2 separate regions of the Homo sapiens genome follow, and region 1 is linked to region 2. The links are contacts of gene promoters, found by promoter capture Hi-C in blood cells and fetal thymus (Javierre and others, 2016). All regions are on one chromosome and are shown on one strand. The core of a region is centred on a gene start or on the middle of the fragment in contact, and the rest is flanking DNA. Distances in the headings are between cores, read along the strand shown. Region 1 overlaps DNHD1 (dynein heavy chain domain 1). Region 2 holds the start of MRPL17 (mitochondrial ribosomal protein L17).

Region 1 (2,700 bases), core at 44-2,543, 110 kb after region 2:
TAATAAAGGAACAGCAGGGTTTGAGAGGATTAACTCCAATTTTGAAATAAGTTCTGTAGGTAAAATGCTGTAAAACACCATCACATGCCACAGACAAATTCTTCATGAAAATATGAGTCCATTGATATGGACTCGTATTCACTGTTGTTTTATTTTAAGAAATTGCCACAACCTTCAGCAGTCACCACCCTGATCAGCAGCTATCAATATTAAGGCAAAAAAGATTACTAGCAAAAAGATTACTATTTGCTGAAGGCTCAGATGATTATTAGCATTTTTAGCAATAAAGTATTTTTAAACTAAGGTATGCAATTTTTTTTTTTTTTTTTTTTTTAGACAGGGTCTTGCTCTGTCACCCAGGCTGGAGTACAGTGGCACAATCTCGGCTCGCTGCAACCTCCACCTCCTGGGTTCAAGAGATTCTTCTGCTGCCTCAGTCTCCTGAGTAGCTTGGATTACAGGTGCCCGTCACCACACCTCGCTAATTTTTGTATTTTTAGTAGAGACAGGGTTTCACCATGTTGGCCAGGCTGGTATACCTTGTTTTTTTTTTTAACTTAACATAATGCTATTTCATGCTTAATAGACTACAATATAGTGTAAATGTAACCCATATGCAGTGGGAAACCAAAAAGTTCATGTGACTTGCAATATTCGCCTTATTGTGGTGGTCTGGAACCAAACCCACAATAGCTTCAAGTATGCCTGTATACACTTCTGTTTGCATTTCCTCCCACCACGTAGCTGGTACCTAGCCATAGAGCAAGGGAGCTGAGTTTATTAATACTACGTAAGTTTTGATGCTTGGGGGCAAGGAGTGAAGCTCATATAGGCCTTTGGTTCTGCCATACTCTAACTCAACTTTTGTCGGACAGGCTCGCCCTGGCCTAGCAGGCAGTCATGCAACTAATAATAACAGAAAATATCAAAGCAGCAGAACTCTTGATTCCTTAGCTCCAGCTGCTTGCTCCCTCAAATTTCCCATCTCAGTTAATGACACATGATACACCTAGTTTCTCAAGCTTAAAATCCAAATCACCCTAGATTCTTCCTCTTCCTTTATTCTCCACATCCATTCCATCAGTCCTGCTGGTTTTACCTCCAGAATAGTTCTTAAATCTGTCAGTTCTTCATCTCTATTTAAACCCTTGCCCAAACTCCATTATCCCTTACTTGAATTACTTCAGTTGGGTCCAAATAGATCTTCTACCTTGTCACCCTGGCTTTTCTAGCATCCATCCACCATAGAACAGGCAGAGTGACCTTTGAAAAAATGCAAATTAGATCATATACTCTCCCACCTACTATTTGACAATACATTCTCATTATACTTTTGAAAAATACAAGATCATTACCACGGCCACGTGAGCCACCCCTTTCTATACGTTCCCATCATTTTGGGTCGCTCTGCCCCTCACTCGCCATGCTCTGGCTGCATACGCTGTTTCTTGAACACTTCAAGGTTGTTCCTGCCTCAAGACTTTTGTACCTACTGAGGGCTCTACCTGAATGAATATTCCTTCTAGATCTTTAAATAGCTACTTTCAAATATGCAGAAAGCTTCCTTGACCACTCAGATTATACTAACTGCTCCCGTCTCATCACATACCCTCTTGACGCATCGGTCTATTTTGTTTTCTTTATAGGACTTCAAAATCATCAAAATTATTTATATGTTGGCCTTTTATTGCCTGTTGCCCTACACTAGAATAACCTTATTAGCACATAGAAGAATACCTGGTTCCAAGGAATGCTCAATGAATAATTGTTGAATGAACATAGGACCTTGTATCTTACTTGGCTTTTTTCATATGCATGACTCACTGAGAGAATCCATCGTAGGAGAGGAATGAGTGGTAGGGCAGGATTGAGGCACTGCCAAGAACACCACTAAATGCCTTAAGAAAGAATTTTGAGTGCTAATGTTCTCCTTTCAAACATATCCCTTGTGGATTTAGCACAAGTGCTGAGACCACAGTAGAGAGCGGGGCAAGGATTTAGGATTCTGTGTGTCAGCCACTGCTGGGTCTGCCTAGCTTCTTGGATACATGATTAACACCAAGTCCCACCCCACCCCAACTGTACCCACACTTTCCCCTTCCCGGCTGCCAGGCACATGCCCTCTTCTACCTTCGGTGTGAATATACCTCCTCTTTTCTCAGTTATGCACACTGTACCTTTCTCCTAGTGTGTCACATTCTGCCTTCTTGGTGTGCACACACCCTACTCTACCCCCATATCTCAGAAATCTTTCATGGAATCACTACAACTTTATTTTGGTAGACGGGCTCAAGACAGGGGTGGGCTGCACACATGGACCCTCCTTTGGACACAGGTGTTGGGGGTGAGCTTGGTGGGTAAAGGCAGATGCATCACGATGTTCCTGCTCTGCAGCTTAGCGGTGCCAAGGGGCCCTCCCATGTACACAGGACACGAGTACACAGTCAGGTCGGCTGGGGCTGGCAGGTCACTGGTGCCCGGGGCCTGTGTGCTGATGCTGACGGGAGGCAGAGGGCTGGGTTGGCTGGAAGGACTGTCCTGCAAGGCTCCAGCTATTGGGTCCCACTCCGCATGTAGGACCTGTAGCCCGATCAGCAGCAGCCCTCTCTCTGGAACCGTGGGATTTGGACCATTCTCCACCTGGGGGCGTCAGAAGCTGGTCAGGCAAGGCTAGGAAGCTGGGAGGTGGCAGGTGGGAAG
Region 2 (2,700 bases), core at 201-2,700:
CAGCAGGGTCATGCTCTCTGACAGATCTGAAAAAGAATGCGTTTTATACCTTTCCCTTGGCTTCAGGTGTGCTCCAGCAATCCTTGGTGTTCATTCATTGATTTGCAACTGCTTGACTCCATAATCTCTGCTTTCAAGGTCACATGGCTTTCTGCCTGTATGTCTCTGTCTTTACCTGGTCAGCATCACCCTGTGTCCATCTCTCTCTCTTCATGCGCATTTTTTTTTTTTTTTTTTTTGAGATAGAGCCTCACTCTGTCGCCCAGTCTAGAGTGCAGTGCCCGATCTCAGCTCACTGCAACCTCCACCTCCCGGGTTCAAGCTATTCTCCTGCCTCAGCCTCCCGAGTAGCTAGAATTACAGGCATGAGCCACCACGCCCGGCTAATTTTTGTGTTTTTAGTAGAGACGGGGTTTCGCCATGTTGGCCAGGCTGGTCTCGAATTCCTGACCTCAGGTGATCCGCCCGCCTCGGCCTCCCAAAGTGCTGGAATTACAGGAGTGAGCCACCGTGCCCGGCCTGCATATATGTATGTACGTATATATGTGTCTATCTATCTAGCTAGCTAGACACTAGGCATTTTGGATTAGGCGCCCACCTATGCCTGCATGACTTCATCTTAACAAATGACATCTGCAATGACCCTATTTCCACATAAGGTCACATTCTGAGTTACTGCAGGTTAGGACTTAACATAGCTTTTTGGGGACGGGAAGAATCATGGGGAAGACACAATTCAACCCATAACAAGGAATAATTTTGACAGTCATTGCCAATTTGCAGATGTTAAGGCTCAAAAACAAACTATAATATTATTGTTCATTAACACATAAATGTGTAGGTATGTTTTTTCCCCTTAAAAAGACACACTGGTGTAATTAAAAACAATCTACTACTTTTCCCTTTAGTGCTGTAATTTTTTTAACTGGAGTGATTACTTCAATAAAAGAAAAATTTCACTATCTGCGTTTCTTTTCCGGGCATCGTTATTATCCATCTCACCATTACTACTGAAAATCACTGTGTTAAAAACAATGCGTACAGGTGTCAACCAGGCCAGCTGGCCACTGCTGGACCCGGTAGGGCCGTCAGCCCGCAGGACCCCGAACCCTCCGGGTGCCTTTCTCTTCAGACGCTCTCTTTCCCAGGAGTCTCCGCGGCGGAGCGCCCCATCGCCCTAAATGCCACTGGCTGACGCAGCCCCAAAAAAAACCCGATGGCCCGCTTATCCCACACTAGGGGGCGCCTGGTTCTTCGGCCGCCACAGAGCGCTCTGGATGCCTGAAGCCCGCCCAGCTCGCCGCCTCTGGAAAAGCTCAACACCGTTTCTCCGCCCTTCCCGAGATTGCCAACGAGGCAGGCTCTGATGCGCATGCGCAAACACGTTCACCACGCTCCGAGCTAAGGCGCATGCGTTCCCTGAAATTGCCGCCACCGGCTCTACCTTCCAGTTTCCAGTTCCGGCCTCCAAGGGGCGGGCAGAAGTTGGAAACATGCGGCTGTCGGTCGCTGCAGCGATCTCCCATGGCCGCGTATTTCGCCGTATGGGCCTCGGTCCCGAGTCCCGCATCCATCTGTTGCGGAACTTGCTCACAGGGCTGGTGCGGCACGAACGCATCGAGGCACCATGGGCGCGTGTGGACGAAATGAGGGGCTACGCGGAGAAGGTGAGGAGCGCGGCCCTCTTGTCCACTCTGCGGGTCTGGTCTGAGGGGGCGGAGCCGGCTGCAAGTGGAAAGGGACCGGGACCAACCTGGTAAACCATTCCCCAAGTCTGAGTCCCCCAGAACCTTGGGCTGAACCCGCCCCTCCATCGCCTCTAATGGAAGACTGGTTAGGGCTGCGGAGTTAGGGGTGGCGTAGATTGGAGATGCTTGGCTAGTGGAAAGAATGGATTGCCTTCCGGCATTAGAGAAATTAGATTGGCACCTTGTTTTCTTGCTCGGTTGGATCCGTGATGTTATGTCCTCACAGCTCATCGACTATGGGAAGCTGGGAGACACTAACGAACGAGCCATGCGCATGGCTGACTTCTGGCTCACAGTGAGTGCGACCTATCTGCCTTCAAAATCCCACCCTTTGCTCCCTGGGGGTGGGGGTTGGAAAAAGGAGAACTATGCAGAATTAAACTTGGGTACTCACTTATGGGCCAGTGCTGCTAACTAAATTAGAAACTGTGTCTTAAGTTAGTTGAAGTCGATGTGAATATACCTCTGCACAACTGCCTATAAACGACCCCTTTGTGTAACACTGACTATGCCAGATTGGCGAGGGGAGGGGGAGGTCTTTCTATGTGTGGATGGACCTTACCTTTGGGAATGGTGTAAAGTTAAATGCCTCTGCAGTTTTGCCTGACTCTGCTGTCTCTTGGATAATTCTCCCTCTAGGAGAAGGATTTGATCCCAAAGCTGTTTCAAGTACTGGCCCCTCGGTACAAAGATCAAACTGGGGGCTACACAAGAATGCTGCAGATCCCAAATCGGAGTTTGGATCGGGCCAAGATGGCAGTGATCGAGTATAAAGGGAATTGCCTCCCACCCCTGCCTCTGCCTCGCAGAGACAGCCACCTTACACTCCTAAACCAGCTGCTGCAGGGTTTGCGGCAGGACCTCAGGCAAAGCCAGGAAGCAAGCAACCACAGCTCCCACACAGCTCAAACACCAGGGATTTAACTGGATCTGAAGAGTCTGCAGCCCTTAA

The links. The method cuts DNA at HindIII sites, captures the fragments that hold promoters and counts their contacts. A CHiCAGO score of 5 or more calls a contact.
Region 1: a contact is called between a fragment that was not itself captured here and the fragment with the promoter of MRPL17 in region 2, in 3 of 17 cell types (non-activated CD4 T cells, total CD4 T cells and total CD8 T cells). The highest score is 5.5, in non-activated CD4 T cells.

The regions. Positions count from the first base shown.
Region 1 is chr11:6,571,576-6,574,275 of GRCh38, reverse strand. DNHD1 (dynein heavy chain domain 1) reads right to left here. Exons shown (of 43, transcript NM_144666.3): 43 at 2,256-2,640. The coding sequence ends at 2,290. Among named protein-coding and RNA genes, the nearest start is that of RRP8, 31 kb to the left of the region's middle. RefSeq lists an enhancer at 2,664-2,700. The HindIII fragment of the contact is 538 bases long and covers 1,025-1,562 here.
Region 2 is chr11:6,682,090-6,684,789 of GRCh38, reverse strand. MRPL17 (mitochondrial ribosomal protein L17) reads left to right here and starts at 1,450. Exons shown (of 3, transcript NM_022061.4): 1 at 1,450-1,667; 2 at 1,975-2,043; 3 at 2,388-2,700. The coding sequence starts at 1,494. The coding sequence ends at 2,672. RefSeq lists enhancers at 1,290-1,729, 1,146-1,908. The HindIII fragment of the contact is 17,410 bases long and covers 1-2,700 here.